3 separate regions of the Homo sapiens genome follow, and all the other regions are linked to region 1. Evidence: promoter capture Hi-C in 16 types of primary human blood cells and fetal thymus (Javierre and others, 2016). All regions are on one chromosome and are shown on one strand. The core of a region is centred on a gene start or on the middle of the fragment in contact, and the rest is flanking DNA. Distances in the headings are between cores, read along the strand shown. Region 1 holds the start of METAP1 (methionyl aminopeptidase 1). Region 2 overlaps TSPAN5 (tetraspanin 5). Region 3 overlaps RAP1GDS1 (Rap1 GTPase-GDP dissociation stimulator 1).

Region 1 (3,887 bases), core at 73-2,572:
GGATAATCTGGGTCTCAGAAGAAGCTTGTGAAACTTACAAAGAAAGCTATAATCATCCCCTCTGTACAGTGTAACACTGGAACTCAGAAAGATTAAGTAACTTTACTAATTCAAGATCGCACAATAACTGGCAAGGGCAGGGCCCCAATCAGGCCTTCTCTTTATTCCGGCTCTCCTCCCCACAGGACGCTACCAATTTAATATTTGAATATTCATGTGCCTCTCTTCACTAAACCTGGACTGTAACTAAGAGCCATACTATTGCCGCCCAGCCCTCATCCTGGGTCTCGAAATGCAGCAGCAACACTAGTACTCTTCAGTAAACAGAAACACGAGCACACGCTTCAGTCTGGACCCCATTCAACGCTGGGTTTGCTCTACTGCACAAAACTTAAAATACACTACAGCATTCACGCCTAACCCTCAATGGAACTGTCCTTTTCACTCTGGGAAATTCAGTCACAGGTGACTCATCCCGTTAGCTTACAGTTTTGTAAATTAATAATTTTATATACCGAAAGAAAAGAATGAATTACACAGACCTCTCCCTTCCCCACCCCCAAAGTTGCTTAAGTGTCAAAGCACGGTAGTAAAGCACAAAGAAGTGGGGCTGGAGCTAGCTAGCGTTCCTCCTCTCTGCGACTCCGACGGTCCTCGGGCCACCCATCTCTCAGAGCCCGGCAGGTAGCTTCAGCCCCCCACCCCGCAGGGACCCGACGGACGGCCCGGCGCCTCCAGCGCCCAGACCCGAGCCCCGCCGGTGCTGCGGATGTGGAGGCTCGCGACGCTCGGGCTGCCCTCCTTCCCGGCGCCGCTACCTGCCTCCGGCAGCCCGCACACCTGGCGGCCCCCGCCCCAGCGCGGGGAACCGGCCCCAGAACGCGGAGGTCTAGCGCGGCCACGCGACCCCGCACAGCCCGCTTCCGCCCCAGCCCACATGGCCGCGGCGGGTGGCGCCCCCGCCCCCGCGTGAGCCCAGCGCGGTTCCCGAGGACCCAGGGACCCCAGGAGGCAGGAGGGGGCGGTGGCGACGCGGGTGGGGGGAGGAGGAAACGCGGCCGGGGGGAAGAGGAGGAGCGCGTCCCGACTCGCCGCAAGGGCGGGAGGAGCCAGCAGGGGAGAAGCGAGGAGGGGTCCCGCAGCGGCGGCATATCCGCGGGGCAGCGGGCGCCTACCTGCGAGCAGAAGTACGAGCCCTGGATGCCCAGCTTGATGCAAGTGGGACACTGGAGCTTGGCCTCACTGCTGCAGCCGTCTGTCTCGCACACCCGCGTCTCCACGGCCGCCATGCTGCCTGCCCGCTGGAAGAGCGCCTCACCGAGGAAGAGGCGGCGGCGGGAGGGAGGAACTGCCGGGCGGAGGGGAGGGGAGAGAGACCGAGTCGGGGGAGGAGCTGGGCCCGCCGCTGGCCTGGGCGCGGGAGGGGGAGGAGCCAGGGCCGGCCGGGACCACGCAGCGCGCCCCGCCCCGGCCCCGCCCCCGCCCCGCGCGCGCAGCTGGTGCCCCGCCCCGCCGGCTTCGCCCCGCCCCCCGCCGGCGGTGCCTGCGTGCCCAAGCCTCCCGGCGGCGCGCACATTGGGGCTGTAAGGGAGCTCGGCAGGGCCCCCCCATTCGGCGCCTTCGGGCGTCGGCCAGCAGAGAACGCGACCTGCCGGCGCCTGACGGTGAGGAGCCGCCCTCTCGCGGCGCACTCTCTGTGCCTACAGTCAGATAAGACAGTCGTCTTCACTGACGAACACCCAGGAGCCCTGATCATCCCCGACACCCGCAGGAGGCTAGAGAGGGCGCTGCGCTCCTCTGCGTTGGATTCCCCCGCCGCTCCTTGGAGAACAGTCCCTTGGGTTAAGTTCTGTTTCTCACTGACATTGTCGGGTCTGAGGCCTAAGGACCACCGCTCATTCACAGAAAGGAGAGCCATAGAGCTGTCAACGGGACGGTGGGCTGGGATTCACATCTGCCCTCCCTCCTGCCAGACTTTTTTTTTCCACACACCACCACCTCCCCTTCAAAACCGATAGTGCTAGTAATAGTAACACAACTGTCAGGTATTCAATACAAATAATTTTTTTGTATAATCCCAGTTGATTGCTTCAGCAGTAAATAGGGGAGAATTGTGCTGATCCTGAAATGTCAGAGTCGAAAGAAGCTGTAAAGGCCTTCCCCTGCGAACCTGTTGCTTCAATCTTTTCAGCTGTATTCCAGGTCGGTTGTGTTGTAACTCATGCTTGAGTGCCTCCTTGTCACTAGGGAAGAGCGAAAAACTAACATTTACTGATCACAAAAGGCTGTGAACTTTGTTATTGTATTTTTTTAACTTCTCCGTACTTAATACACCAGAAAAGCTCATACTACTTTTATTTTTAAGAACTTTGTTTTGGCTAGGAGCGGTGGCTGACGCCTGTAATCAATCCCAGCACTTTGAGAGGCCAGGGCATCCAGGGCACCAAGGCCAGCGGATTCTTTGAGGCCAGGAGTTCGAGACCAGGGTGGAAATATGGCAAAACCCCGTCTCTACAAAAACTAAAACTAAAAACTAAAAAATTAGCCGGGCATGGTGGCAGGCGCCTGTAGTCCCAGCTACTGAGGAGGCTGAGCTGGGAGGATCTGTTGAACCTGAGAAGTCAAGGATATGGTAAGCTATGATCCTGCCACTGCACTCCAGCCCAAACGGCAGAGCAAGACCATGTCTCAAAAAAAAAAAAACTTAGTTTTGCAATATAAGCAGTAAAAATGATGTAATAAAATCAAGTAATAGAAATGTTTACATGCATACATACATATACTTTTGTATACAAGAAAAAAATCAATAAGTATGTATGTATGTATAAAATATTTTTTAAATAAAAACTGCACCATACCATATAAAGTAATTTACTTACCTGATTTCTTCAGTTACTATGATGTCAACTTTTTGTTTGTCGTTTGGTTTTTCTTTGAGACAGCATCTCATCCTGTCAACCAGGCTGGAGTGCAGTGGTGCTCACAGTGAGAGGTGACAGCGAGGTGACAGCATGCTGGCAGCCCTCGCAGCCCTTGCTTGCTCTCGGTGCCTCCTGGCCTCAGCTCCCATTCTGGCCGTGCTTGAGGAGCCCTTCAGCCGCCGCTGCACCGTGGGAGCCCTTCTCTGGGCTGGCCGAGGCCAGAGACGGTTCCCTCAGCTTGTGGTAGGTGTGGTGGCAGAGGCACGGGTGGCAACTGCGGCTGCGTGCGTCGCTTGCGGGCCAGCTAGAGTTCCAGGTGGGCGTGGGCTTGGCGGCCCGCACTCAGAGCGGCCGGCCGGCCCCGCCGGCCTCGGGCAGTGAGGGGCTTAGCACCTGGGCCAGCAGCTGCGGAGGGTGCGCCGGGTCCCCCAGCAGTGCCGGCCCACCAGTGCTGTGCTGGATTTCTTGCCGGGGCTTACCTGCCTCCCCACGGGGCAGGGCTCAGGACCTGCAGCCCGCCATGCCTGAGCCTCCCCCGGCCCCACCGTGGGCTCCTGCCCACGTGGCCCAAGCCTCCCCACGAGGGCCACCCCCTGCTCCAGGGCACCCGGTCCCATGGACCACCCAAGGGCTCAGGAGTGTGGGCTTACAGCTCGGGACTGGCAGACAGCTCCACCTGCGGCCCCAGTGCGGGAACCACTGGGTGTAGCCAGCTGGGCTCCTGAGTCTAGTGGGGACTTGGAGAACCTTTATGTCTAGCTAAGGGATTGTAAATACACCAATCAGCACTCGTATCTAGCTCAAGGTTTGTAAACACACCAATCAGCACCCTGTGTCTAGCTCAGGGTTTGTGGATGCACCAATCCACACTCTGTATCTAGCTAATCTGGTGGGGACTTGGAGAATCTTTATGTCTAGCTAAGGGATTGTGAATACACCAATCAGCACTCTGTATCTAGTGCAAGG
Region 2 (3,650 bases), core at 362-2,861, 530 kb after region 1:
AAGTTGTGTATTTCATGTGCACCGAGCAAGGGCATTGGAAGACGTCATGAGGCTGTATTTTAGCAGGACTGATCGTTTTTCTAAGTAGACCTGAGCTTTGTTTATCAGTGAAATTCAAGGAGAAAATGAGGTTAATGAAGAGGTATCAGTTAAATATCCCCTTCTTCTCACCCTGCCAAAATTAGCAGTTGGATTTTTGGAAACTCTGGAATATTCTGGGTCATTTTGTTTTGTATGTTTGTTGTTTTTCGTCTTCCAAAGGTGAAAGCTATGATACAGTTCCACTTAAATTTTAGTGTTTTCTTACTCAGCTCAAGCATTAATTTTTGATTAAGTCTTAATCTGCATGACCTGTGAATCTGAATCCATCATCTCCCTTTCCTGCCAGCTTTTCTACAAACATTGAAATATGTTATTTGGTCAGCACTTATTTCCTAGGTTCACAGCCTTGGGAGGTTGTGGCATGTCCTCCCAGTCTGGCTGGGAAGAGACCAGCTGTACCATCCAAATGCTTCCCTGGTCTTGATGATCTCTTCCAGAGTCGATCTGAGTGGCCTTTTCTGCACCCTCCCCTTCTTTCTCTTTGAATGGAATTAAACCCAATTTGGAAACAACATTGACCCAGTCAAAAGCTTCTAATGGTTTCTTTTTCTTCCTCCAGTTTTAGTTTGCTTTTATTAAAAAAAGAAAATAGTGCATGGCCATAGCTCCTTCAGTTCTCTTATTGCAGACTAACCATCAGGATGGTATCAAAGCACAAATACTTTGGAGGGGAATGCGTTGAACTGGGGCAAGTACTCTGTAACACAAAGTGGGAAACCACTTCCTGGTGCTGCCGCTCCTGCCCCCACTTTAGGTGGGAGGGACGAGTTTTGCCCTCTAGATTTTAATCCAGCTGGTGTCCACCGGATGTTGCCCTCCTGGGGAGCAGATATCAGTCTGTGGAACTCTGGGAAAACCACAGGCACATTTTTCGGTGCGGACAGATTTGCCAGCACATAACTGGGCAGCCAGCTAGAATACTTTGTGGAAATTAAGCGAGGTTTTCCATTTCAGCCCCATGGTGCATGGTGGTGGCCGATGAATGTGTCAGTCTGCTCAGAGAAAGGACAAAAAGGAAATTATTTTCAAAACTGTGTTCACTGTTTGGGTGTGTGTATGGCTCTGCATGTGTGTGTTTTTGTCTCTGTATAGGTAGAGGTATTCACATCTTACTCCGACTGTAAGGTTGTCTTACTTCATCTCTGCCCCCACCACAGTTGCCATTTTGTAATGTCCTTCCAACATGGAGAAGACACGAGCTCTCTCCAGTTGGCATCATTTGTCTTTTTTGTTGATTGCCTCATTCTCCAGTGAACTCCATCTGGCCAATTGATTCAGAATCAGGCAAGATCCCTGCCCTTTGGCACATCCACTGAAAGGCCAAACAGCAAGTCCGAGTGAGTTTTAAATATTAATTAATCACCCTTTATTTTTTACACTTGAGAGTGATTGTAATAAAGGCTGTCATTAATAAACTTGGTTCTACCTTACATGGTGTGTCTTTCTTCATTACTTCTTTCTTGAAATTGTGAAATTTTCGAATCCAGTGGTTCTCAAACTTTAGCAGGTGTCAGAATCACTGGGAGGACTTGTTAAAACACATGAATGCATTTGCTCCGTGCCCATAATTTCTAACTTAGTAGGTCTGGGGTGGGGCTGGAGAATTTGTATTCTGATAAGATCGTAGGTGATGCTGTTTGCGGCTTGTTTGGGGACTACACTTTGAGAAGCATTGTTCTGATCCAGTTTTCTAGGAGGGGAAACAGAAAGGTAAGATTTTGTAGTTGGGAAGGGAAAGGTTCCTTTGTACTTAAAAATGCTGACTGACAAGACACAGAGGCCAGAGCCTCGTATGTAGGAAATCCCTGCCCATGAGGTCATCTGCTGGTTACAATCACTTGGGGACCATGTGAAATACAGATTCCCCAGACCTTACCCCTAGCAGTTCTGGAGTGGGAGACAGGGTAATCTATGTTTTAAAAGCTCCCTTGAAAATTTAATGCCTGGTGGGATTTATGACTTATGGGCTTAGATAAATGTTGATAATATTCACAACCTTTTATATAAGAAAATAATTTCTCACAGTCCCTTGGAGCTGGAATCTTAAAAACCCATTAGAGAAACGTCAGCTTAAATGTCTTTCATTGTGAATTATCACTGCAGAAGAAGACTTCCGTCGTTAGAACTGATTAAATACTTTTTTCAAAGATCAAATGAAAACAAATTTTAAGGTTCATATAGCACACTTAGATCCTGACAACATAGTGTCAGACTTGTTCAAGAAACGTTTTGCCTCATATCTCAGATATTTGAAACAACGTTATTTTGATTTTAAGGAAATTTATCAGTGATGATTGGAGATGGCCAATCCCTGCTTCTTGAGTTTTCTTATTGTCTACATTGGCCCTCTTTGCTTGTTGCAAACTATAAGCCAACAAAGGAAAAAAAAATGACAGCTCAGAAGTAAAAGGATGCTTTGTCTATAAAACTCAAAAACTTGGAGGAAGTTTCTTCAATGTGTAGAAGGTAGACTTTAGGGGAAGCTTATTAAATTTCTCTTTATTTCTGTTGTTGGGCTGGTTACCACTAACATCATTGCTCCTATAATTTAAAAATATACAGTTTTTAAATGTGAACTCAGGAATTTAAAAATATTTTGCATCATGAAGTACTTAAAGAAGTGCATTTCCTTTGTTCTTCCTCTTCCTTCTCCCAGGGAGTAATAAACCTGGACTTTTCTTTCAGCCTTCTTCCTGCCACAGGTCCCAGTTGTCCTTTCCTCAAGGGGATCCTCAAAGTGTCTCTTGGAGGTTTCTTGTGCAAAGTGATCATTCATTTCCCCGTGTTTGTGTGGGCAGGAATGGAGTGATTTTGCAGTTTCGTCTGTTTCCGGCTGGCTTGGACAGGCGCCCTGGGAAGCCTGTGGGCTGAACAATGAGGAGCTGGAGCCCAGTGACCTGGCAGGCCACCCCAACTCCCTTTGTCATTTATTCCACGAAGCCCTCCTTCTCTAGGGAAATCCTGTTTAGACCTCCAATGAAGAACTGGGAAGCCCTCTATAAACGCTGGCCAGCAGGGTTTCATGGCCAGAGCTCTCTCCAGTGAGGCCATGGGGCTGCTTCTAGGTGCTGCCCAATTCCAGAGTGAGAAGCCTAGTCTTTGAGGAGGAAAATGCAGCATTTGCCTGAAAAATACATTAACATTGGCTTTATCATGATGACACAATAAAATCCATAGAAAATCTACACATGATAACAGACAAGGCAGTCAGATGGGGGTGGGGGGGTGGGTGGGGGCAGGGAGCACGGCGGAGAAGCCAAACTCTGAACTTGGAGCAAAGCCATCCTTACACTCACCCGAGCCTTTTTGTTTGGAGGGGTTTGCCACAAAGAGTTTATAAAATTACAGTTTTAGGCCAGACAAGGTGGCTGGCTCACACCTGTAATCCCAGCACTTTGGGAGGCCAAAACAGGATGATTGCTTGAGGACAGGAATTCAAGATTAGCCTGGGCAACATAGCAAGACCCCGTGTCTTAAAAAAATGAAAAAAAAAATTTTTTTTAATTAGCTGGACCTGGCGTCATGCACCTGTACTCCCAGCGACTCTG
Region 3 (3,889 bases), core at 992-3,491, 550 kb after region 1:
ATTTTATTTTTATTTTGGGACAGACTCTCACTCTGTCATCCAGGTTGGAGTGCAGTGGCACGATCTCGGCTCACTGCAACCTCTGCTTTCCAGGTTCAAGGGATTCTCCTGTCCCAGCCTCCTAAGTAGCTGGGATTACAGGTGTGCACCCTGATGCCTGGTTAATTTTTGTATTTTTAGTGGAGACAGGGTTTCACCATGTTGACCAGGCTGGTCTTGAACTCCTGACCTCAAGTGACCTACACGCCTCAGCCTCCCAAAGTGTTGGGATTACAGGTGTGAGCCATTTTGTTTCTACATTACAAACTATTAATAGGCATACTGTCTGCTGTTTGGGGGTTGTTTTTTGAATCCTTTTAGTTGGGAATCCTGCAGCAGTGAGAGAGGAGTATATAGGTTAGGCCCTAAGATATCACAATTCCATCTCACCTTGTCTTGAACGTCTAAAAGTTCAATTGTCATGAAAATCCTAAGGGAAGTAGGGATTATTAAACTTGTCATATTGAGAAATCAGGCCCAAAGAGTTTAAGTAACTTGGCTATGGTCACACAGCTAGTATGTAACAGACCCAGGATATGACTATAGATTAGACAGCATCCAAAGACCACACTCTTTGCACTGTATCACCCTTTTAAAGTACATAACTTGAGTCAGACACACCTATAAAACATACGCCTGTAATCCCAACACTTTGGGAGGCCGAGGCGGGTGGATCACTTGAGGTCAGGAGTTCAAGACCAGCCTGGTCAACATGGTAAAACCCTGTCTCCACTAAAAATACAAAAATTAACCAGGCGTCAGAGCACATGCCTGTAATCCCAGCTACTTGGGAGGCTGGGACAGGAGAATCACTTGAACCTGGAAAGCGGAGGTTGCAGTGAGCAAGATCGTGCCACTGCACTCCAGCCTGGACGACAGAGTGAAGTTACATGGCATATTATTTATATGTATATAGGCAAAGTTAGAGATCACACCTGTGAAAAAAGACCTCAGTTTTCCTGGCTACAGCTATAAAGATTCATCCCAAATATTATTACATGCTTTTTAATAGACACTTGTGTAATACAAATGTTATAGCGTCCTAATGTTAAGTGGCTTTTAAGCTTACTGATTCCAGTAACAGCTGGATACAAAGGGTAATGCTCACCTAAATGTCTTAATGTCTAGATATCCTCACCCAGTATGTTCAAGAGAATTAGATAATAAGCCTCCTAATTATAACAAAGAGCATTTCTTTTTGAATTCTTCACATGTAGCATTTTTCAGAACACTTCAGACTAATGCTTGCATATGAGAACTGCATTCTATTCAAGAAATCATTTTAGATGAAAAAGTTTTCTTCTATGTCTCCATTCTTATCAGACAGTATGCTCAAAACATGTTTTTATCATGGAAAACACTGGGTTATGGGCTAGTGTTTGCTTTGAGCACAATGAGGTTATGGTCTAGGTGGGTGGGCTGGCATGACTCCAAGTTGCTAATGGGGTTGGGGGGAAAGGGGTATATTCTAGTGCATTGCACTCAGGCATCTTCTTTGCTTGTATTCCTGCCCTTTTCATCTATGTTCTAGTACTGGCTCAAGATTGACAGTTAAAGCTTTGTTGTGCTGTTCTTCCCTCCTGTTGTCTCCCTTAGAATGTACTCTTAGTGGGTAGCAAACTAACTTAATAAATAGTGGCCTCTAGGACTAAGATTTAGTAGCAGGAGATAAGCGAGAGTACAGTCTGTAGACTCTCCCATCCACTGCAATGGCACATCAGTGTACCATCTAATTTGGTAGCCCCTGTGATAAGGGCACAGCCTTCTGGTCTTTCCGTACAATGATGAGTACTTTGAATTGCACTTTATTTTGCTGGAGATGGGAGTTCCTAGCATATTAGCAAATTGATGGCTGGCAGCTGGCCTAGATGGTAACTTCTCTCACATTTACGATTTTAGGATGCTTTTGTTAAAATTTTTTCCCTAAAGTCAGACAAACTATCAAATCTCAAACTTTCTATCAGTCAGTCAGTCTATCTTTCTGGAATTAGTTCAGGCAGTCTGGAAACTTCATGGATGCAGGATTCATTCATTCAGTCAACAAATATTTGTTGAACATCAATAGCAAGCCTTATTCTAGGAGCTGGAAATAGAGACAAAATATACAAACAAACCAAATGATGCCATTATAGCTTCATATACTATTTATTAAGTTATTAATATGAACAGATATGCAACATTACAGATGTCTTTCAAAGCCTGTAATAAAATATAGTCCACTATCCAGCCCAGGAGAAAGACAACAAACAGTATCATTCTTATAGTAAGTGTAGCATACGTACTCACAATAGTTCCCTTATTTGGACATCAAAGGGAACAATCAGTCAAGATTCTTTACCTCCATTAGAATTTAACTTTCTTGGATTATAGCTGTTTTAGAGTCAAAAGTCCAACTTAGATTATCCACAGAGATGTGTAGCATCACATGTTGGAGAGGAAGGAGCTACTGTCACCTCCGTGGCAGCCCTTTCTACTGTCTTGCAGTCCTTCTATATCGAAGCCCATCTTGCCTTTTAGGCCAGTAGTGGTCAAATTTGGGTATGGGGAGAAGGCAGGTGGGTCACAGGGAGGTTTTGATTAATTTACAAAGATTGTGTTTCAAAGCTCTAAAAACCCATTTGGTGGTGGCAGTGGCAGTGAAGAGTACACTATATTTCGCCAAGGGGGTCTTCTCATCTCTTGAGTCTTGGCTTTCTCATATCCTTTAAAATTGCTGCAGTTCTCAGTGGGAAAGTGGAGGTGGCAAACTCTAACAGCGATTGGTATGGGGCCATCTGCAGAATGAACTGGACTGGCTACTATGGCTTTTATAACCTGCTTTCCTTTCTTTAGTCTAGACAAGCTTATTTCTTCATCTTTCCACCTACGTCCTGCTAGTTCTAACATAAGATTTAAAAGGACTATGGAAGATAAAACTTCTCACTTTCTAGCTGAATGATGAAAAACAGCAAAAAAAAAAAAAAAAAAAAAAATTCCATTCTTCAATGAACTATACTCAATTTCCTCAGTTGAAAACAAACAAGCGCCAAATGAATTTTAAAGACAAGTGCTGGATAATGCTGATTAACTGGTAGAAGTAGTTCCTGAGTGAAACAGCGTATGTATCAGAATCTAAAATACAAGCAAAACCCGAAATGCTCTGTAATAGGGATTGTAATAGTGATTCTTCAACCCCTTAGTTTCACACTGAAAACTACAAATGTTTTTCAATATCAGGCTATTGATAATAGTCAATTAAATATGGAATCAGAAACCTCAGAAAGTCTTGCCAAGTTTGTGGCAGTTTCAATAGTCTAAAAAGGAAAAAGGAGAAACCAGAAGTTAAAGAGTAAGAGCATTGGAATTTTATTTAACTCTAGGTACCATGGATTTGACATCAGTAGGAAAGACTAATGAATAAGCAGCCATACAACTTTTTTGGTCACTGTGCTTCCCAAGCACCAAAAAATGGAGCTATTTTTCCAATTCAGTTTCATCTTTAATAAGCTAGACAGATCCTGCTGCATTCTTTGTTTCTAGTTTACCAGTACATCATTATGTAGTTTACTGCATGTGTGGAGCAAGTCATTATGTAGTACCAAGTTTACATCATCATAGGACTACAACATGCACATTCTACTTAATGTAGCTCAAGCAACAGGAATACAAGAGAACGGTTATGGGTGGAGACTTGCCTTTGACAAAGTCATGATCACACTAACTATAGGTTTAGAAATCTTATTAGGGAGGTACCTACAGCGGTTCTTCAATTGGTATTAGAACATCACATGCATGCACAAGTGGTATGGTAGAGAATGAAGCGGAAGAAGCCGCTGGATGGAGGACAGAGGGGAAATTAGAGATGGGATGA

Evidence for each region. Contacts are between HindIII fragments. The CHiCAGO score rates a contact against its expected background, and 5 or more counts as called.
Region 2: a fragment that was not itself captured here is called in contact with the fragment with the promoter of METAP1 in region 1 in 5 of 17 cell types (M0 macrophages, total B cells, total CD4 T cells and 2 more); the score reaches 7.3 in M0 macrophages.
Region 3: a contact is called between a fragment that was not itself captured here and the fragment with the promoter of METAP1 in region 1, in 2 of 17 cell types (M2 macrophages and total B cells). The highest score is 5.8, in M2 macrophages.

What each region holds. Positions count from the first base shown.
Region 1 is chr4:98,993,156-98,997,042 of GRCh38, reverse strand. METAP1 (methionyl aminopeptidase 1) reads right to left here and starts at 1,322. Exons shown (of 11, transcript NM_015143.3): 1 at 1,176-1,322. The coding sequence starts at 1,289. RefSeq lists enhancers at 127-909, 1,831-1,880 and silencers at 651-1,110, 1,271-1,590. The HindIII fragment of the contact is 4,143 bases long and covers 27-3,887 here.
Region 2 is chr4:98,468,249-98,471,898 of GRCh38, reverse strand. TSPAN5 (tetraspanin 5) reads left to right here. Exons shown (of 8, transcript NM_005723.4): 8 at 1-1,532. Among named protein-coding and RNA genes, the nearest start is that of TSPAN5, 190 kb to the left of the region's middle. The HindIII fragment of the contact is 1,953 bases long and covers 635-2,587 here.
Region 3 is chr4:98,442,138-98,446,026 of GRCh38, reverse strand. It overlaps RAP1GDS1 (Rap1 GTPase-GDP dissociation stimulator 1), which reads right to left. Exons shown (of 15, transcript NM_001100427.2): 15 at 2,169-3,889. Among named protein-coding and RNA genes, the nearest start is that of RAP1GDS1, 180 kb to the right of the region's middle. The HindIII fragment of the contact is 1,285 bases long and covers 1,599-2,883 here.